7 separate regions of the Homo sapiens genome follow, and all the other regions are linked to region 1. The links are contacts of gene promoters, found by promoter capture Hi-C in blood cells and fetal thymus (Javierre and others, 2016). All regions are on one chromosome and are shown on one strand. The core of a region is centred on a gene start or on the middle of the fragment in contact, and the rest is flanking DNA. Distances in the headings are between cores, read along the strand shown. Region 1 holds the start of RGS2 (regulator of G protein signaling 2). Region 2 overlaps LOC105371664 (a long non-coding RNA gene). Region 3 overlaps LOC105371664 (a long non-coding RNA gene). Region 4 overlaps RGS2-AS1 (RSG2 antisense RNA 1). Region 5 has its middle 51 kb from the start of RGS2-AS1. Region 6 has its middle 11 kb from the start of RGS2-AS1. Region 7 overlaps UCHL5 (ubiquitin C-terminal hydrolase L5).

The links. The method cuts DNA at HindIII sites, captures the fragments that hold promoters and counts their contacts. A CHiCAGO score of 5 or more calls a contact.
Region 2: a fragment that was not itself captured here is called in contact with the fragment with the promoter of RGS2 in region 1 in 2 of 17 cell types (M0 macrophages and total B cells); the score reaches 6.3 in M0 macrophages.
Region 3: a contact is called between a fragment that was not itself captured here and the fragment with the promoter of RGS2 in region 1, in 3 of 17 cell types (total B cells, naive B cells and M0 macrophages). The highest score is 8.4, in total B cells.
Region 4: a fragment that was not itself captured here is called in contact with the fragment with the promoter of RGS2 in region 1 in 5 of 17 cell types (monocytes, M1 macrophages, M0 macrophages and 2 more); the score reaches 22.9 in monocytes.
Region 5: a fragment that was not itself captured here is called in contact with the fragment with the promoter of RGS2 in region 1 in 11 of 17 cell types (neutrophils, M2 macrophages, monocytes and 8 more); the score reaches 20.8 in neutrophils.
Region 6: a contact is called between a fragment that was not itself captured here and the fragment with the promoter of RGS2 in region 1, in 4 of 17 cell types (monocytes, neutrophils, M1 macrophages and 1 more). The highest score is 18.5, in monocytes.
Region 7: a contact is called between a fragment that was not itself captured here and the fragment with the promoter of RGS2 in region 1, in 17 of 17 cell types (M0 macrophages, monocytes, M2 macrophages and 14 more). The highest score is 42.7, in M0 macrophages.

The regions. Positions count from the first base shown.
Region 1 is chr1:192,807,585-192,810,629 of GRCh38, reverse strand. It overlaps RGS2 (regulator of G protein signaling 2), which reads right to left and starts at 1,591. Exons shown (of 5, transcript NM_002923.4): 1 at 1,449-1,591; 2 at 363-464; 3 at 199-260. The coding sequence starts at 1,558. RefSeq lists silencers at 338-397, 1,905-2,114 and an enhancer at 1,355-1,574. The HindIII fragment of the contact is 4,593 bases long and covers 375-3,045 here.
Region 2 is chr1:192,594,727-192,597,658 of GRCh38, reverse strand. All of the region lies in intron 2 of LOC105371664 (a long non-coding RNA gene), which reads left to right. Among named protein-coding and RNA genes, the nearest start is that of RGS1, 20 kb to the right of the region's middle. The HindIII fragment of the contact is 833 bases long and covers 1,093-1,925 here.
Region 3 is chr1:192,616,343-192,619,635 of GRCh38, reverse strand. The region is part of intron 2 of LOC105371664 (a long non-coding RNA gene); the gene reads left to right. The region is part of intron 1 of LOC107985241 (a long non-coding RNA gene); the gene reads right to left. Among named protein-coding and RNA genes, the nearest start is that of RGS13, 18 kb to the left of the region's middle. The HindIII fragment of the contact is 1,035 bases long and covers 925-1,959 here.
Region 4 is chr1:192,938,374-192,941,228 of GRCh38, reverse strand. All of the region lies in intron 1 of RGS2-AS1 (RSG2 antisense RNA 1), which reads left to right. Among named protein-coding and RNA genes, the nearest start is that of RGS2-AS1, 8.5 kb to the left of the region's middle. The HindIII fragment of the contact is 607 bases long and covers 1,025-1,631 here.
Region 5 is chr1:192,998,061-193,001,052 of GRCh38, reverse strand. No RefSeq gene overlaps it. Among named protein-coding and RNA genes, the nearest start is that of RGS2-AS1, 51 kb to the right of the region's middle. The HindIII fragment of the contact is 8,959 bases long and covers 1-2,992 here.
Region 6 is chr1:192,957,792-192,960,872 of GRCh38, reverse strand. No RefSeq gene overlaps it. Among named protein-coding and RNA genes, the nearest start is that of RGS2-AS1, 11 kb to the right of the region's middle. The HindIII fragment of the contact is 7,616 bases long and covers 1-3,081 here.
Region 7 is chr1:193,018,019-193,021,016 of GRCh38, reverse strand. The region is part of intron 10 of UCHL5 (ubiquitin C-terminal hydrolase L5); the gene reads left to right. Among named protein-coding and RNA genes, the nearest start is that of UCHL5, 40 kb to the left of the region's middle. The HindIII fragment of the contact is 2,819 bases long and covers 25-2,843 here.

The DNA.
Region 1 (3,045 bases), core at 342-2,841:
CTGATTTTCTTCCCCACCTGGAGAGAATATATGCATTTATTTGTTAAACCCTGGGAAATAAAGGAAAGAAAAACAGGCTTTATCCTATAGTGACTGCAGTCTAATCCCCCTCAGGCAAGCTGCTCTTTTGTTAGGTGGACGCAGCCTTTCCAGGCTTTTGCGATGTTAGCAATGGCTCAAGCTCAAGAGTTAACTTACATTTGCTGGCTAGCAGCTCGTCAAATGCTTCTGACCACAGCTGTGCTTCCTCAGGAGAAGGCCTGCAAGAGAGGTTCTGTATGTTAGCTTACGCACATCAGAGTTCCCCTTTTCAGTTCAGCAGCTAACTATTGATATTTGCAAGCACAGGATTCTCAACTTACTTGATGAAAGCTTGCTGTTTGCTTTTTTTGCCGGTTTTGGGCTTCCCAGGAGTAGAGGAATTTTGTAAGAAGTAGCTCAAACGGGTCTTCCAATCTTTTAAACTAAAACAAAAAATTAAAAAGATAATTACTAACTAGCAACACTTGAATATGCTACTGCAGCTGAACGCATTTTTACCAAATAAAGTCACCCAGTAACTAGAGACAAACCGCATAAGGCAAAGCAAGAACTCTTCAAATAAGTCTTATCCACCTAACATTTAAACCTCATGTACTGAGCAGTTTCGTCCATTAATCTGACCGTATCTACTAGTTTTACAACTAAGGGCAGGGCTACCTATAATCACTAGGGTATTTTAAAGAATTGTTAATGAATTTAGTTCAAAAGGCAGACACTATTTCTGGCTCACAAAGGGCATCAGTTTGTTTGCAAGGTTAATTACAATTCCGAGACGTTTTGCACTTTAATGAAAAGGACAGACATGGAACTGTCTGGAGCCGGCCCACGCTTCTCTCTTTAGAGCAGGAGGTTCTGGACCACGCCAGAGACTGTACAAAGAGGTGGGTGACTGATTCCCCTGCGCTCTTCCTTCCCCACCTACGACACTTCTTTTAAGCAGACGCTGCATAACAATTATTTGTTCCACATTCGGACTGGGTGAGATCTGCTCTATAATTAAAAAACAAAAATGGATTTTAAACGAGTATATTCAGAACCAGCAAGAGCATCACCTTCCAGTAGCTGTGTAAGCTGATGAGAACTCATCATGCAACGTATGAATGCTGGGGACGCGCTTCAGCCGCAGGATTCTGATGTCATTTTGAATGCAGGAGGACAAAAAGCCAACCCGCAATTTCTTAGCGCATCAACCACCGCCCTCATATCAACTGTCTCCCTCGGTTCTTAAACTGTACCCGAGCATCACCCAGATTTAACCTTACTTAACAAATTGACCTTTTCGATTTTTTTTCCCTGCATAGGCTCAGGCTAGTTTCCTAACGTCAAAGGCGAGCCCGAAAGTACCGCGTTTGCAGCTTGCAGTGTGGGGCAGGGGGTGGCGGGAGAGGGAAGAAAGCCATACTCACAGGGTCCGTTTCATCTTTTCTCGCTTCTCCTCGCTCTTGTGGCCACTGCCTGCGCTCTTGTCCATGGGTCTGCAGTCGTGTTGAACAGCCAAGAACATAGCACTTTGCATTATCGTTCTCCCGCTGGAGCCCCGGCTGTTTGCGGCTGGGCGTGCGTCGCAGCATTTATGAGGCCTCGGCTTGGGGGCGGGGCCTCGCGGCTCCGGCCCCGCCTCAAGAGGACGCGGATTGGTCGGCTGCAGACTGGCACGGGGATGGGTCAGCGCCCGCCGGCGGCAGTCACGGCTGCTGCCGAAGGGTCTCGAAGCCGGGGCGCTGCTGACGTCTGCGGCCCCGGCTTCTTGCGCACTCGGGCCACATAGCAGCGGCCAGCTGGGGCAGGTGTGGGAGCAGATGGAGAGTCTTCAGTGTGGGCCGCTGCGCACGACCTTTTGCTGAAGCGTGGCGGCCGGGCGGGCTCGAGGGCTTTGCGACGGAGGGAGGGAGCCGAAGTTGGCGGCGGCCCGGCGGGGGCGCCGGCGCTCCCTCACCCACCCTGACGGGCTCCCCAGCCCGAGGCCAGAGCGGCGATTCCCTGGCAGGAGGAGGTCGCCCGCCACGAGGCCGGAGTGCAGTGGCCTGATTTCGAATGAAGAGTGGGATTTTTCTTCCTTTTTTGAGCGCGTTCCCTGACCCCGCGCCTCATTTCTTGTTTGCTGTCCTGCTGTAGGACTCATTCGACACCCCCTGGTCTGTGAACTGAGGCAATGGGGAGACCCTCGCCCGTTTCTCTCTGCCACTTAACTTAAGGAAGGAGTAACCTGAAACGTTGATTGCCCAGGGGCAGGGTGGGATCTGCTCTGCAGCTTGCTGGGGCGTCTTGGAACACTTTGAGAATGAACATTAGGGATTGAACAAGAGAAAGTGACTTTATCAGAAGACAGTGCTTTAATTGGGTTTGCATTTTTGATCACTACTAGGCACGTGGCTGGGTCTGTCTATAGGGTCATTCCTCAGGAGTCCTTGGTCACATCTCCTGCCAAAATAGAAATCACAGATTTCCTTATGGTGGGAGAGAAAGCTGCAGACATAGAGATTTCATAGCTGTAATGCACCAGAATCAGTGAGTTCAAGGAGTCAGGATTTCCTCATGAGTCATTCTTGTTGAGTTAGGATTTACCAGAACATTTAATAACTGGCAAAAAGTAGGGGGGAGAATGAGTTAACAGTTTCCTTGATTAAGTTTTATTTGTTAATTCTTCAAGTATCATCTCTACTCCTGAAGGTTTTAAAACGACTTGATTGGTAAAGACAAATAGATTACCTCAACCACAAAATGAGTTGATTTCGGATAATATTACCAGAACTAGCCAGTGAAATGTTTAAGCGGCTTTGCAACCAAGCTGCAGATATTCTCTCTACTTTGTATTCGACTTCTTAAAAGGAAATTGGAAATAATTAATATATTCTTACGGTGAGCTGCCAGTAGTTGGAGCTCCAAGTTTGACTTGGAGGGCAAAACCTGCAGTTATTATTTAAGACAACAGTTGTGGACTTTATTGTGGAAAGGAAAATCGTGTAGATTTCAGTAATAGATACTTTGAAACATGCTTGTTAA
Region 2 (2,932 bases), core at 260-2,759, 210 kb after region 1:
ACCCTTTACCCATTTTCTGTTTGAACTTAGCATATCAGATTTGCAGAGAACTGCTAAAGGCAGCAGCCTTTTAATGATACTTGGGCAATACCATCCCTAGGCACCTGTGTCAGTCACCAGGTCAGGTAAGCCACAGCACAATTCCATGAGGGGAGGACTTAATGTGTGTACCACTGTGCTCCCAAAACTTAGCACAGTGCTGGAACATAGGAGGCATTTAGTCAATAGGTGTTGAGTAACTAATACTCAGGATACAAATTTATTCATTTTTTAAATCCAGCAACCATTTATTGTGTACTTACTGTGAGTAAGGCATTCTAAAATGAAGACGTGTTCTTTGCCTTCTAGGAGATTATAATTTAGGGGGGGAAGGAAGACATGTATTTTAATACTAAATGAAGTAGCATATTTTTCTCCAAGATGATTATTGTTCCATACAATCCTAAGATGTAGGCTGGGTAGTAATCAAATTATCTTTAGCATCTTTTCATATTGCTTGACTTCGTGTTTTAATTGGCTTTTATTTTTCTCAGCTCAAGAATATATTTTTATGTGTCTGTTATCTAAAAAACTTAACGATTACATTATTTTGCTAGGATAACCATCTCTCTCACGTCTGTTCTTGTTAGTATTATGCAAGCCTATTGTCAATAGCATTTGTCCACTGTATCAGTCAGAGCTCTCCAGACAAGCAGAACTAGTAGGACACAAACATTATATAAAATATATGATTATATATGTATGATTACATATATATTTATTTATGAAATAAATATATTCAAGGAATTAGCTCCTGTGATTGTGGGGGTTTGCAAGTCCGAATCTGTAGGGCAAGCAAGCACACTGTAAACTCTCAGGCAGAAGCTGATGCTGCAGTCTTCAGCCTGAATTTCTTCTTCCTGAGGGTAACCTCAATTTTGCTGTTAAGGACTTTCAACTGATTGGATGAGTAAGCCTCACCCACATTATTGAGGATGATCTCCTTTATTTAAACTGATTGTAGATGTTAGCCACATCTACAAAGTACCTTTTTAAAACAATGCCTAGATTCCTGTTTGGCTGGGTAACTCTGTGCCATAGTCTAGCTAAGCTTACACCTAAAACTAGCCACCATGATCACCACTTATAATATGAAGAAGGTTTCTAAAATAATAAAATTGACAGTTAAAATTTTTTTTTGGCAGACAATAAAGGACTTCTTTTATGAATTGTTATGTTTAACTTCCAGATTAAATTTTGAGGGTCTGAAATATCCAACAGGAATCATAGAGTTCTGAGAGATTTAAAGTGATGCTTTGATTTCCATGAAGTCAAAAATTGTGTTCTATTATGAAAACCACTTCTAGGAAATCTATACTTCATAAGACACAATTGAGAAAGCCACTTTTGTTGAGATTTAATTCCCACTTCTTTCTGCCACTTCACAATCACTCACTGAAGAAAGAGAACAAATGTTCTTGTCGCAAATGGGATTGAAGTCTAGCCTCTGTCATTCATCACTTGAAACAGTTTCTTGTAAACAACCAGAAACATCTTCAACTTTTCTTAGATACATTTTCTAAGTGTCTTTAAAAGTAAGGAAAACACAGATTGGATATCTAAAGTCAAGGAGAGTTCTGAGTTCAGTTTAGTAAAATTTCTATGCATCGATCTATATGTTTCTCTGGAACCATCTTTTAATAATTGTATTTCAGTTCATATTAGAGAATTTGTTCTTAGGAACTATGTGTAATTCATTTCTCTTGAGGCTTTCTTCTCGCTTACATCCTAGGTAAAAATAACCCTGAAACTTCAATTCATAGCCTGTGTAAATAAAAAACCATACCTAGTGTTCTGTGAATTCTGGGAGGAGGGAGAGCTGGAGAGCTTATATTTCATGGTTTCCACTGCTTCTTAAGTTTCTTTTTCCTGTTTCGTTAGAAGCTTTGCTTAATCGTTAAAACCTTGACATAGACAAGCTTAGTCTCCTCCTCACTTAATTAGCAACAATTAAAAAATGTGTCTCCATCCGCACAAAACATTTCTTAGATAAATAAATAGATGTTATGAAGGGAAATATACCCAACTATGTGTATGTGTGTTGGAAATTGGATGAAATGGAGAGCTTTACAGTATAACAAGACAAATAACCTCAAACGAAGCAATAGACATGCACATGCCCCATCGCTGCACCACCTCCTCCCTCCTCCTCCCTACCCCTCCTCCTCCCTACCTCCTCCTCCTCCCCACCCCTCCTCCTCCCTAACCCCTACTCCTCCCTACCCCTCCTGCTCCCTACCTCCTCCTCCTCCCTACCCCTCCTGCTCCCTACCCCTATTGAGTTTTCTGGCCCCTTTCTCTCCTTTATTCTTTCTTTCTTTTCTCAATTTGTAGCTATCAGTTTCTTTCAAGAACTGCTATAGCAACTTTGTACCCTTTCTTATGCAGAACGTCTTCTCTTTTCCACCCATATTCTTTCTGTCCCCTGTGATTCTAATCTGCTCTGAGGAAAAACTCTTTCTATCGGATATACGATAATTATGGTAAGAGAACAATAAGATTAAACACAAAGTCTCATTAAAAGGGCATACATTTATTGCAAATGATGAAAATAATGCAACCCAAAATAAGACTTTCATCCAGAAAAACATATAATACCTGAGTAAAGATTGCAATGTTTTCTATTCCATGGAAAACTGCTACTGAACCAAAGGAGAATGTTTTTTCCCTTTCTCCTCTGTTTTAGCTACCCACAGGAACTGTTCAGTTTTTGTCTTCCTTTCACATTTCCAACCCAAATATTATAGTAAACACTGTTGTTAAAGGTTATTGATGAATTGAGTGATATTATCATTCATTTTGCAAACACGCATATTTGCCAGGAATGATAGGGAGTTGAGATGCAAAAATGAATATGACATTTTCCCTTCAAAGATATTACAGTCCATTGCAG
Region 3 (3,293 bases), core at 193-2,692, 190 kb after region 1:
AAATACTCATTTGCCATAGAATATACTAAGCACTGATCTGTAAGCCTTACAAATAATTTAATTAATTCTCATAACAAATCTATAAAATAGATACTGTGATTATCCCTGCATTATAGATGTTTCAAAATTGGGGCATAAAAAGGTCATACAGCTAGCAAATAGTGGATTGTGGATTGGGCGTTAGAATCCAGGCCATCTGGCTTCAATGTGTACACTCTTATACCCCAAAGTATACTGTACCACTCCCTAGGCTTCACAATCTGCCCAAATAGCCTTTACATTATAATGAAATGGAAAAACTCTTTGATGATGGACAGTTGACAACCCTAGTCTCTTAGGATGGCATTATGAAGGAAATTATATTCCTCCTTAACATGGAAATAAAGATTGAGAATGGTCCTTGATTTCTGCTGAAGAGAGAATACATTATGTGAGATGAACTGACTCATAACATAACACTTTTATTAGGTTGAACCATATGAAATTGTGTTTTTATAAGGTAAAAATGGTAGCATATGGATAACTTTATGTGGTTCAAGCTAATATCTTTACTCCTGTTTAAGCCAACTTTTATTGGCTTCCACGACTTGTCTTTTCTTGGTAGATCAAGTAGGCAAATCACTTTCTTTCTCTAAAAATTTCTTTACCTTTCCACACTCTACCACTCCCACCTATCCCAAACATCTGGGCAGCCAGACCTGCAGCTTCCACTGCTTCAGGGAAGGATGATACACAGCGTGCAGGTGATACACAACTACAACAACAAAATAGGATTACTGGGCTTTCAAAGTTCAAATGCCTAAATCAGAATATAAAATATAAATTTTGGGGGCAAGTAGAAATTTTTCCACCTCTGTTCCCAGGTTAAATAAAGAGTTTTAGTATCAGAGAAGGGAAAAAAAGTCTGAGTAGCAGCAAGAAGCTTCTTTCCTGAGAAGATGAGAGCCAGTTACTAAGCAATGGAATGTATTAGTTATTACTAATCCTTATAATAATTTTCCTCAGGAAACTAATATTTGTTACTTAGTTATAACACAGGGTGGCTATACCTTCCTGTCCCAGGCCAATCCTGGAAGTGGAGGAGGGTGAGGGATGACAGAAATGTGTCCTATTTTTTGGTTATTGCCATGGATCACATCAAGATGCCACAGTCCTCCCGGAACTCCATGGCTTAAGTTACATTGTGGTTTATTTCATAGCAAGTCTAAACTTACCGACAGAACATATGTCCACTTTAAAAAAATAAAGATTTTTGCACACTTAAATTTGTTAAATTTCACACACTTATTTTTTTATTTCATATATATATATTTTAAATTATACTTTAAGTTTTAGGGTACATGTGCACAACGTGCAGGTTAGTTACATATGTATACATGTGCCATGTTGGTGTGCTGCACCCATTAACTCGTCATTTAACACTAGGTATATCTCCTAATGCTATCCCTCCCGCCTCCCCCCACCCCACAACAGGCCCCAGTGAAATTTCACACATTTATTACTTGACAGATTATGGTTTTAAATTTTTAAATCTTAAAATTCAGCTGTTCTCTTTTTTTTTGCATAAAATAAATGTTCCAGGTTTTTATAGACATAGTGCTAAGGACTGATGTTTCAATATTTATAAGAAAGATTGTATTTATAATATATTTTATTGTAAGCTATAAGGTACTTTATGAAGCACTTAGATAAATATTTACAATATTAGGAATTAAAGTATTTTCAGATCACTTTGACTTTATGTATTAAAAAGTCATGTACTATGTGAAACAGTAGATTATACAGATAAATAAGACACAGTCTGTATGCTTAATTGCATTTTGCATATTTTTTATGACTTTAATCTCTATTTGCAACAATTTAGGCAGGTTTACAGATTAAATAAGTTCTGCATATACATGCTGATAGACGTGAATATAGCGAACAAGACAAAGATAGAGAGTTTTACTTGGGCAAGCTTGAGTTAAAGAGTTGCTAGATAAACAAATCCCAAATAAGCAACATGAATCATGGTCAATTATGACATATGGAAGCCCTTGATGTACAGATAACCAATTTTGGTGTTAGAAAGAGAAGGACCTATATTCCCAACTGAGTCATCAAACTATGTGCATGATTATGAACAAGTTACTTTATATTATAAATGTTAGTTTTCTGAGGAAAATTATTATAAGGATTAGTAATAACTAATACATCTCAAGTGCTTAATAATTGATAAATTTTATTAATATTATTTTGTTGCTGATAATATTTTCCCATGATAATGCCAATTCACTATATATACCTTTAAAAGATTAGTGATCATGGCCATTATTTGAGAACAGTGTTTTCACTTATAATGGAAAGCAGTATTTTATCTGTAGTTACCCCTAGCTTATGTACACTGTTGCTGTCAATTCAAGGAGATTGTAAATGAATGGGAAAGAAGGTGACTATTTTTATTTCCAGCAATGTTTTGAACCAACCAAGTAACTGAAAATGCTTCCATTACAAAACAAAGAGATTTTCTGGCTAAAATAGTTTTAAAATTATTTTAAATTCATGGTTGCTCTTACTAGTAAGAAAGGAAAATTCTCAATTTCCTATACAAAGTGGGAATTGAAAATCATAATGGTAGGATGGAAAACTGGAATTGTGACTCAGCCTGGCAAATAATCTTTTTTGTTTCTTTCCTGGTTAAGGAAAAAGAAGGAAGCTAGCACCTGGGGTATGATGCATGTACATGTGGGAAGTTTGTATTGAGATCCACCAACCCTCTAATCTGTGTTTTTCAGAGGGATAACCATCAGAAATAGGTTGAACTAGAAAATATCTTTCCAGTGGCATAGGAGACAACAAGAAAGCTTAGCTCTCTTGGCCCTGGGCTGCAGATGAAAAAAATGAAGCCTTCTGTGATAATTTGTAATCATGGTAATGGGATTTAAATTTACCCTATCCATGAGCTCCTAAAACTCTCAAGTGAGGAATCAATGTAAAAATAGTTTGGGCTGGTAATATCCTTGGGGCACCTAGCAGAAAGCAGACAATATATCCCCGGAATGACATCTGTAAACACAGGCCACACAAGACTCCTATGGATAAATCTATGCTGAAGATGAGCTTAATATCCAAAATTTACAAACACACAAGCAAACAAACCCTCATGAAAACATACCAGATTAAAAAAGAAGCGAGATTAGATTCCTAAGACCTTCAGCTAATAGAATTGCTGAATAGAAACTATAAAACAAAAATATTTAAACTGAATAATCTATTTTAAAAAAAGATTCTCAATTTTGAAAACAACAAAACCT
Region 4 (2,855 bases), core at 79-2,578, 130 kb before region 1:
CCCACTTAAAAGTGGGAGCTAAACATTGGGTACACACGGACACAAAGATGGGAACAACAGACACTGGGGACACTAAAAGAGGGGAGGGAGAGGGTCAAGGGTTGAAAAACTACCTATTGGGTACTGTGTTCACTATTTGGGTGACAGGTTCAATAGAAGCCCAAAGCTCAGCATCACACAATATATCCATGTAACAAACCTGTACATGTCCCTCCTGAATCTAAAACTTAAAAAAATAGGAAAGAAAGAGAAGTGCTTTGTATATAGCATTATCTAAATCTTTGCTATTATTGTTATTTAACATATCTTTATTGAGCAGCTGCTATGAGACAGACATTGAGGAAGTATGAAATTGTCTTTGCAAAGTATGACAGTGTTTGCTCACTAGAGAAATTATGTAATAAGGGTCAGAGAGTGTTGGGTGTCATTTTGAATTTGGGTGATCCTGATTTTATAAGGTTATCAGTCTGCCCACTTTGCAATTATGCAGGTTATTGTCTATAGATTTTAGAGTTAGACAGGCAGAACCTGAATTTTATTTCTGGCTTTGCCTCTTACCAAATATCTTCATTTAATAAGTGTCAGTACCCTTATCTGTAACATGGGAACGTTAAATGTACCTACCTCATACTGTTACTATAAAGAATAAACAAGATTATATATGTATGTATATATGTATGTGTGTATTTATACATATTGAATTTTTAGCACTGTGTGTGCTACATGATAAGAACTCACTAAATGGTAGTTACTGTGAATCCTAATTTAAGAAGTCGTGATGGTATGTTTATTTCAATGCAAATTTCCGTGCTTAATGTATTTGTCTGTCTAATATGCGCTCTGAGCTATTGACAAATTGGATTCATTGTTAGTTGCTTAAAATATACCCCAAAGAGGAAGAATGCACACTGGGCTAGTATTATAGTTATTTTTAACTATAATAAAAAATGGAATGGAAAAAAGCAGAATAGAAATAAGAGAGATTTACAATGTTGCTAAAAATACTTATGGATTTCTTAAAGCTTTGATGATGAAATTATAAGCTAAATTTATGTTAAAAATAATTATTGAAAAGAAGAAGATAAAATTGTGGAAGAGATATATCCAAAATACTTCCTTAGCTAACAAAGAATTAACATTTTAAAATTATCATTTTTAAAACTTGCATATGGAGCTTCAAATTTTATCCTCTTATTATTTTAAGGAAACAAATAAATTTAGTGAATTTTATAAAGCACAAATGTTTGCTCTTTAAAAGATGAAGTCTGATTTAAATATCTTTTTGTCATTTTCAAACTTATTTTCAAATCTACCCTTCTGATTCCTATTCTTGTCTCTAAACATGCATTATTATATGCTAGAGCTAGATGGATTTAATTTTTTATGATCTAACACAAATAGAAAGTGAAATATGAAAAGGATATTTCCATTTACATAGCAATAAGTTAACATTAAATCTAGCTTTATGATGTTTAACTTTGAGGTATCCTGCCAAAACACAATTGACTGATAGGATGGAAATGAAAGCCACTAATGGGATGCCTTGTTCTATAAATCAGAGTTGAGGATTATGGAGCTAAGGTCATTTTCTTTATCGCTCTTTGAGGGAAGGCAAAGTAAGTAAACAAGCTTAAATGAGTCTATGGGCCTGGGTTCTCTGCAGGGATACTAAGAGAAGACTAAGACTAAGAGGTAACTGACCTCGGGAAGTTTATCAGCCTGTGGCAGATACCTACAACCACTCAGGAAACAAACTAGGAGTAGGTGCTTGCAAGTAAATTGACTATAGGAGAAAGAAAAGAACAACATTAGAAAGAGAAGATCACACAGAGGAAAAGTGAATTATAAGGTGAAACGCCCAGCAAATATCCTGTAATTCCTCTGCACTGCACAAGCCAGAACATGATTCTAATTCTTCCATGCTAGAATTGACAACACAATCTACTGAGAGAGGTTCTTTAGCATTTAAAAAATATGAGAATAAAGATTTATTTGGCAAAAATTTTCTTATTATTAAAAAAATTTTAGATAATTTTTTACAGCCCTCTGTGCAGAAGACACGTATCTCATAAAGGAAAGACATTTATATATACACACGCCTTGCATTTTAAGCCTCAAATGATTCTTCTAAAAATACAAAGTATAAACTAGGTATTTGGCACGAAAAATTTAAAAGAAGAATGTACAATGTCTCTTTTTTTAAAATAAAATATTTATTTCAACTTTGCAGGAAACTAATGCTTTATTTGTTATTAAATTCAGTTCCTTTTTCACCTCCACATTTTCTCCTAGACCACTGGAATTTCCTCTAACTCTTTGATTGCTCGCTTGTTTTTATGTGTTTTGCCCTGCTTATTTTCCTTTTTCTGGCTAGTTTCAGCGTCTAGTGAAACTACACAACTGTAGTCCAGTAGTTCCCTGAACTTCAGCTTTAATGAACAAGAAAGTAAAAATACATTAGGGGACACCAACATGGGATTGCCAATTTCCTTTTTGTTTTGCTAATGAGAGACATTAAAAATAAATTTCAAAATACTGAATAAAGACTCAGAAGAGTGGGAGGGTGAGAGGGGGTGAGAGATGAGTAGATGGTGAGAGGAGGGAACCATGTACACTATTCAGGTGATGGTTATACTAAAAGCCCACTACACAGTCTATCCATGTAACAAAACTGTGCTCGTGCTCCTTAAATGTACACACATTAAAATAAAATACAGAATAGATTTAGTTTTATACAAAATTCCCTACATTGTTCTTATGTCTGTTATTTCCCCCTGGTCTGGTGAGAAATGTGTTATTGGCTGATCCCAGTCCGGAGCCCCACTTTGGATGTGCTGCTCTACTCCAAGAGAATT
Region 5 (2,992 bases), core at 140-2,639, 190 kb before region 1:
ATAATTTTCTTTTTTCTTTCTTTCTTTTTTTTTTTTTTGCTGTGCAGCAGCTTTTTAGTTTAATTAAGTCCCTTTTGTCTATTTTTGTTTTTGTTACATTTACCTAAGCCAATGTCCAAAGGAAGTTTTCTAGGGTTTCTTCTAGAATTTTTATAGTTTCAGGTAATATATTTAAGTCTTTACTCCATCTTAATTTTTGTATATAGTGAGAGATAGGGATCTAGTTTCATTGTTTCGCAGATGGCTATCCAGTTTTCTCAGAACTATTTATTGAATTAGGGTATCCCTCCTTCAGTTTAAGTTTCTGTTGATTTTGTTGAAGATCAGTTGTGTGTAGGTATGTGACTTTATTTATGGGTTCTCTATTCTGTTGTATTGATCTATGTGTCTATTTTTATATCAATAACATGCTTTTTTTGGTTACTGCAGCCTTGTAGTATAATTTGAAGTCAAGTACTATGATGCCTCCAACTTTGTTCTTTTTGCTTAAGAGTGCTTTGGCTATTTGGGCTCTTTTTTGAAATGAACTTTAGGATTGTTTTTTCTAACCGTGAATAAGGACATTGGTATTTTGATAGGAATTACAATGAAGCTATAAATTCGATGTTTTATAGTTCTTGTGTACATCTTCCACCTCTTTAGTTAAATGGATTTTTTGTAGTAGTTGTTGTAAATGGAATTTAGTTACTGATTTGTTTCTTAGTTTGATCATTATTGTTGTATAGAAATGCTACCTATTTTTCTATGTTGATTTTTTTATCCTGAAACTTCTGGATTCATTTATCAAATCTAGGAATCTTTTGGAAGAGTCTTTAGGGTTTTCTAGGCTCAAGACTATATTGTCAGCAAACAGAAATAATTCAACTTCTTTTCCAATTTGGATGTCTTTTATTTATTTCTCTTGTCTGATTGCTCTGGCCAGAACTTCCAGTACTATGTTGAATAGAAGTGGTGAAAGTGGGCATCTTTGTCTCATGCCAGTGCTTAGGAGGAATGCTTTTAGCTTTTCCCCATTCAGTATGATGTTGACTGTGTGTATGTCATAGATGGCTCTTATTATTATTATTAATTTATTTTACTTTAAGTTCCAGGATGCAAGTGCAGAACGTGTAGGTTTGTTACATAGGTATATGTGTGCTATGGTGGTTTGCTGTACCTATCAGCCCATCATCTAGGTTTTAAGCCCTGCATGCATAGCTATTTGTCTGAGTGCTCTCCCTCCCCTTGCCCCCCAACCCTCTACTGGCACCAGTGTGTGTTGTTCCCCTCCCTACGTCCATGTGTCCTCATTGTTCAACTCCCACTTATGAGTGAGAACATGTGGTGTTTGGTTTTCTGTTCCTGTGTTCGTTTGCTAAGGATGATGGTTTCCAGTTTCATCCATGTCCCTGTAAGGGACATGATCTCATTCCTTTATATGGCTGCATAGTATTCCATGGCGTATATGTATATGTATATGTATATGTACCACATTTTCTTTATCCAGTTTATCATTGATGGGATTTGATTGGTTCCACATCTTCACTATAGTAAATAGTGCTGCCATAAACATACGTGTGCATGTGTCTTTATAGTAGAATGATTAATATTCCTTTGGGTATATATCCAGTAATGGAATAGCTGGGTCAAATGGTATTTCTGGTTCCAGATCCTTGAGGAATCTCCACACTGTCTTCCACAATGGTTGAACTAATTTACCTTCCCACCAACAGTGTAAAAACATTTCTATTTCTCCACACTCTCGCCAGCATCTATTGTTTCTTGACTTTTTAATAATTGCCATTCTGACTGGCATGAGTTGGTATCTCATTGTGGTTTTGATTTGCATTTCTCTAATGATTAGTGATGTTGAGCTTCTTTTCATATGTTTGTTGGCCGCATAAATGTCTTCTTTTGTGAACTGTCTGTTCATATCCTTTGCCCACTTTTTGATGGGGTTGTTTTTTTCTTGTAAATTTGTTTGAGTTCCTTGTTGATTCTGGATATTAGACCTTTGTCCGATGGGTAGATTGCAAAAATTTTCTTCCATTCTGTAGGTTGCCTGTTCACTCTGATGATAGTTTCTTTTGCTTGTGAGTGCTGTCAGGTGGCAAATACTCTGTATGAGTTCCTTGCTTATACATAGCCTCAGTGTGGTGGTTTTCTCAAATGCTAGTTGTAGTAACAGTGTACTGGACATGTAAGTAGACTCTTGGCCACCTGCAGAGATGGGAAGGTGGAGGTCTTGAGAAACTTTTCTCATTCCCAACATTCCCAAGCACTGTGCATGGTGTCAACAGATTTTTGTATTGGGTTGTGCAGTTTGACCTCCAGGCCAGTAGGTGGCATTGGCAGGTAAGAGTCAGCTGCAGTGGTAGCAGTAGGGTGTGTGTTTGATCTTTTTTTACCTAAAGAAGCTCTCTTGATGCCTCAGGCCATGGACCACATTGTGGGACTCCACAATGGCCTAGGCTCTGCTCTCAGAGCTAGGCAAAGCTGGGTGAAGCTGCACGAGGCTCATTTGCTCTCAGGTCCATCAAATGGCAGGTGCAAACACCAGCCCTGATTGGGGTAGTCGGAGAGTGGTGTAGGTTCTGTGAAATTTCCTTTGTTATAAATGGCCTTAGTGTGGTGGCTTTCTCAGATGCCAGCTGTAGTAGTAACGTACTTGAAGGGACTCAAGGCCTCCTAAGTAGCCAGGATGGTGTGGGCAATGGTGGTAGCTGAGGTCCATAAAGGATTTCTTCTTCCTGAGGGTTGTGTGATTGTGTCAGTAGATGTTATAATGGGCTGTGCAGGTTGACCTCCTGGCCAGTAGGTTGCACTTGCAGGAGAGAGACAGCTGTGACAGTGGCCGTGGGATTTATGTTTGACCTTTGTTAGCCAGGAGAAGTACTCAGAAGTCCCAGCATATCACCTGGGCCATGGAACTCCTAGGGGTCCCTGTCCCATGTTCTGCCACCAAGGTGGGTAGGCAGGCAAAGCTGGGTCAGGCAAGTCTGCATTCAGGTTT
Region 6 (3,081 bases), core at 370-2,869, 150 kb before region 1:
AGCCCCTTATAACACCATCAGATTTCATGAGAACTCACTCACTGTCATGAGAATAACAGCATGGGGGTAACTGCCTCCATGATTCAATTACCTCCTCTAGGTCCCTCTCATAACATGTGGGGATTATGGGAAATACAATTCAAGATGAGATTTGGGCAGGGACACAGTCAAACCATATCAAGGAGATACACCTCTGAAATTGTTAATATTTGATCTTACAGCTAAAATTAATGAGCTCTTTCCCTTTTAATAATCTTTTTTCCATTAAATTAGGTGTAGTTATTTATTACAGTGATATACTTGCCAAATATCTGACTAAACAGTTCTCAAATTTTAGCATCAACTAGAAGTACTGGGAAGAGTTTGTTAAAAATGTAGATTCCTGGGACCCATCTCCAATTTCCTCTCCTCCTTTCTTCACCTACTAAAATTATCCAATCCTTGGAGTCTAGTTCAAAAACCACATTCTCTGTAAATACAATTTCACAAAGAATTCTTTCTTCCTACTCCTGTAAGCCTCACTCTTAAAGGCTCACACTGAATTCTTGAGGTTGGTACATGTTCTGTTCCACACTCCCCTCCCTTTCCCACCTGGATTCCTGCTGTTGGCTTTTTTTTTTTTTTTTTTTTTTAAGTGATGCTCCTTTTGCTTGTTTTCCACAGGGGCTTTGCCAAATGGAAGTTCTGGTCAGCATTTTGCCTTCTGGACCTAATCTATTTTTCTGTTCTTTTCAGTTTCCAGTGCTGATTCTATTTCTCTCTTTTATTTTTCCTTACAGCTAAATGTGGTATAGTAAAGTAAAAAATGAACTTAGGAAAAGCAAGGCTAGTTTCAAATCTCAGTCCTACCACAACTACCCCTATGCCCTTGGGTAGTCATTTCATCTCTCTGGGTTTTGTTTCCTTCCTCTGTCAAACAGGTCAAAAAGAGTGTTATGAAGTTTTATTGCAGTGCAAGAAAGATACACAGAAGGTGTTCAACAAGTGTTACTTCATTTAAAATAATGTTGATTTCCTGAAGAGGTTAGGTAATGGGTACAAAAAGTACATTTTGATAGAAAGAATAAGTTCTAGTGTTCAATAGCATAGTAGCATGACAATGCTTATCAGTAATTTATTATGTATTTCAAAATATCTAGAAAAGATTTGGAATGTTCTCAACACAAGGGAATGTTAAATGTCTGAAGTGATGGGTATCCTAAATACTCTTTCTTGGTGATTACACATTGTATCACATGTACTGCATAAATATGTACAATTATTATGTATCAGTAAAACATAAATAGATAAAGAAGCACAGAGTTGATGTCTTATTTATCTTTGTGACTTCTCAGATTTTTTTTCAGTGTTTTGTGCATAGGATATACCAAGAAATTTTGTTAAATTGAATTAAATGGAATGAATCCAACTAATTCTAAGTAATTAGAAATAATTTGAAACCCTGTTTCAAAACTCAGGAGAGATTTTAAGCCACACACTTAATTTACTCTTTTAATAATGCTGCTTGTCCTAACATGAGGTACCTTGAAACATTTTGAAATGGACAATTAATTATGGCACTTGCATTTAGAGAAGTTTAATGCAATGTGCTATTTCAGGTTGATATTTTCTTTATAATATTTAGAAAGAGGAGCTTTACTTTTTTGTAAATTTGATAGATTTTTATTGACTAAAGTCAACTAATTTATCTTGATTTTTCCCATTTATTTGATTAATAATAATAAATATAAAATAAGCCTTACTGTTTAAGTCACTGCAGTTGAGCAGAACAAATGACATCACAGGCCAGGTTCAGGTTTCTCCTGACTCATTACAATAATGTCTTCAACATTTGGTTTAGCTTTGTCTTTGCTATCCCTAGGGATATGCAGTTTCATGATAGCATAATTTAGAAATGCATTGAAGATAATTTGTAGTATAAATCTGTAACAATAGGGTTCACCATTATTTTACTGAGTTATTCAATTGTATTTTGAAGATTCAGTAACTGCTATCATTAAAACTTAATTATTCAAGTAACTATTTGGGTATCAATTAAGCAGTCTAAGGATAATCTGTGCCTTTGACTTAATTATATATATTTCCTTAGAATTATTCTCTGTTTTGTCCTATTTTTTAATTAAAATTTTTTATTTATTCTAAAATATTTTACTAATTAGGAATTTGAGTAACAGAAATGAAGCCTGGTTTAGAATGCACAAGAATGTGATTTAGAGCTAACACAGATGTGCTGATCACAAGAAGACCTCTAGAGATCATCCAGCCTTTCCTTTACCTTTTTATTATATTCAGGTTCTCAACAGTTTGGATAATGTTTCACCTGTGTCAGCAGATTTTCTTTACTCAGTCTACCAATTCAAATTCTAATTTCTTCCAGAAACACCCTCACAGACACACTCAGAAATAATGTTTTACCAGCTATCTGGGCATTCCTTAGCCTAGACAAGTTGACACATAAAATTAACCATTACACATTTGTAGTTAAGGGTGGCCATGCTAAAAATTTTGCAAATGTAACATACTTGGGAGTAACCTCTTCTCCTTATTCTTTTTCCTTCCTAAAACTCTGGAGGTACAGTAGTTGTTTTGAGACCATGGAGACTGAATATACTATAGGGAAGAAGAGCAGGACAACTAAAGGAACTGGGTACCTGATGGCATTATTTAGATACAGAATCCAGCCTGGATTGCACACTCCCAGGTTTTTGCTGTGTGACTAAATAAGAATTAACCACTACATTAGATTTTCTTGCATTCACTTGAATGCAATCCTAGCAGCTACACTCAACATATCTCTAATTTATATTATCCTATGTCTCTCACCTTTCTTCTTATTTCTCACCTTTTCTCATATCCATGAGTGGTACTCCCATTAGTCCAGGATCTCAAACCAGAATTACAGAGTGAAATTCAATTCTTCCATCTCCTTCATGATCCTGTCCTCCTAATACCTCTTTAACATTGCATCAGTCCATCTACTTCTCTTTGTCCTGCTGCCATATGTTAGTACAGGATTTGCCTAGATTATTGTAGCAAACTTTTTTTTTTTTTTTTTTTTTTAGATGGAGTTTTGCTCTTGTT
Region 7 (2,998 bases), core at 185-2,684, 210 kb before region 1:
ATAGAGGTAAAATTTTTGGAAGCTTGTACGTTTTTATTCTTTTGCTTTTGCCTCTTGTTTTCTACTCTGTAAGAATTAGTTCAATTGAGACTGTAAAACAAAAATAAAGAATTACCCCACTGCTTTAGGCTTCCAGATTCTTAGTGTCAAGACCTCAGGTTATGCTGTATTAAAATAAAATTTAAAACACTTCCTTTAAGCAAAAGTAGATTTTTAATGCTGATAATTGAAATAATATTTTCCTATTTAGCAAAAATTTGAGTTGATATAACAGAATTTAAAAGTAGAATGGACATTGTTGGGTTTAAAAAAAAAATAGCCTGTACTACGAAATAGGTTTTCTTATTTCTAATTTAGTATCCATTCCACTGAGGGAAAACTAGCATAAGTTAGTGAAGAATTCTGATTTCTATGATTTTTTTCATAAGTAACAATAAAATATTTGTTGAATAAGTAAAATGCAGTTAAATTGTTTTTAAGTTCATACTGTAAATCAGTGTTTCTGAAAGTGAACATCAGTGGATACTCTTTAAAATACATGTTACCTGGCCCCTCCCCAGATATTCTGATATAGGGGAAGGATTCTTTAATAAGTTCCCCAAGTGATTCTAATGCAACTGGTCTGTGTACCACAGTTTGAGAAACACTTTGAGAAGACACTACTAGGCAAATAAAATTTTGGACCATTAACTTAAAGACGAGAATACATGGTAGGTATATTTTCCTTATTAATTTTAAAGTTTACAAAGCAAAGATTGATTTCAACCAAGCTGTTTCATGTTATACATTCTAAATAATATGAGATGTGAGCTAATAAGTTTTTTGTGTATATTACCTTATTGATTGAAACATGTGACCCAACTTTTAGCATTAAATGTAAAAATTATTGCAGAAGACTGCTAAATCTTCTCTTTTCCATTATAGGTTTTTCTGTTCATGCATCTCAGGGTGTATTCTAAGATGGGAAACTGTTTTTAAAGTTTTAGATTAATACAGGGTCCTGTGGTTCTCAAAATTGCTTGGTTAACAAGAATACCTAGATATGATGTTATTAATCATATCAAATGTTTTTCTGTTAAAAATATTAAAATAACTATAAAATGTGCTAAATATGTGATACATCAGATTTTAAGTTAGATAAATGTTACTAGGGACTAGGACCCTTAGATAAATATTAAATGTATAAATTTTGCATTAAAATTGATCTGTGAACAGAATTTTTTGTGTGTGCAAATTAGTAAGTAAAAGAACCACTGTTGTTTGATTTTTAATTACACTATATCCCCAGATTTTTTTGAGAGCATAGTTAGAGAACAACAGCTTGTCAGCTTAACATTAGAATAATTATTCCTTAGTTCACATTTTTTGGACACAAGGTGGCAGCATATAAATACCTGATGTTAGTGGAACACCAACTCTGTTGTGTTTGCCTTCATTTTCTTAAGGAAAGTAGTTATTGACCTTCTAGTTGCTTATTTCTCTAAGCTGTTCTTTTATTAATATTCCAGAAGCAATATTGAGATAGATTTATTTCTTATATACATGCAATAACTATTATTCTCCTAGGTTCTGAAGGAGCTTAGACTCATTTAATTGGAATTGTTGAAATGTTTTAAATTATTCATCAAACATTTATCTAGCTGCGAGGATATTCCAGGCACTCTGTTAAGGTCTAGGGATGTATACATAACTGAGACATATTATTTTCTCTTAAGCAACTCATGGTACAATTTGGGAAAGGAATAAATGAACAATTATGGTATTGTGCTAAATAGTATTATTTTGATAAATGCCAGGATAAAGTCAGGCTAAAGATCCCCAGCAAGCACAGGGTAGCTCCTAAATAGCTTTATAGCCACTTAAAATTTCACATCCATAAAGTTTTAAATATGTGGTGGGAATTAAGTGCTTAATCTGTAGCACTATATCCGTTTCCTTTGCAAGAATATATTTTTGTTCATCTTATTTTGGAAAAAAAAGATACCATATTAAAATATCATTTTCTGCAGATAAATGCAAATTTAAAAAATAAAGCGTGTTGAAAAACTGTTAGAATAAAGATTAGATTTTATAATTATATAAAATCTTTACCAGTGATAGTTAATTACTTAATGGTAATACTTCTAAGAAAAATTACCTATAGAATTCAGAAATAGATAAGTTGGAATAGTGGATCTTACTGTGTTTTGTTTTCAGGGAAAATAGGATAAAAGAACAAGGTGTGAGAAGGAATAGAAGGAAACAAACAGGAAAGATATGGCTGCACCATGCAGTGCTACTATATGCTGAGATTCTACAGGATGAGATTTTTGAATAGCTGAGGCAGTTGCCTATAATCTGTGATGACATAAAAGTATTTGACCTAAAATCTTTTTATTTGCAAAATAATAAATAAAAAGTGATTCTCCCTCGGCATGGCTATAATGAACTTGGTTAGAACCTATAAATGTTTTTGTTATGTGAGACTTTTTAACCGATGAATTCGTTGAATACACACCACATTTAAAAACTGCCTAGGAGGTAATCCAAAAATATATAGTTATAAAACTTCTTGTATTATGTACCAAATCTCTTTCTTAAAATATAAAATAAAATTATCTAGTTTAAGATTACATTTGTGAGACTTCTATTTATTCAGGTATATTTATGATTAACAAATTTTTGTCTACACATTTGTATGTAATTATGAATCATTGTCTATCTTAAATTTTTAACTACCAATAACTTAACGTGATGTAAAATCATAAATTCCATTGCTATGGGGAAATCCAAACAACTTCACAATATTGAATTTTGTCCACATTTTACTATGACTTTGTGATTCAATTGGTAATAAGTAAGCTTCAGATCTTTTTCTATTTCTTAATAGAAATAAGGTAGAAGAATAGTTAAGGCTAATCACAACAATATCTACATTAGTATCTATTAATGCAGAATTATCTGATTTGAGTCAGTACTTTTTAATATCATTGGTACACTGTATAGAAGGAAAGTATTT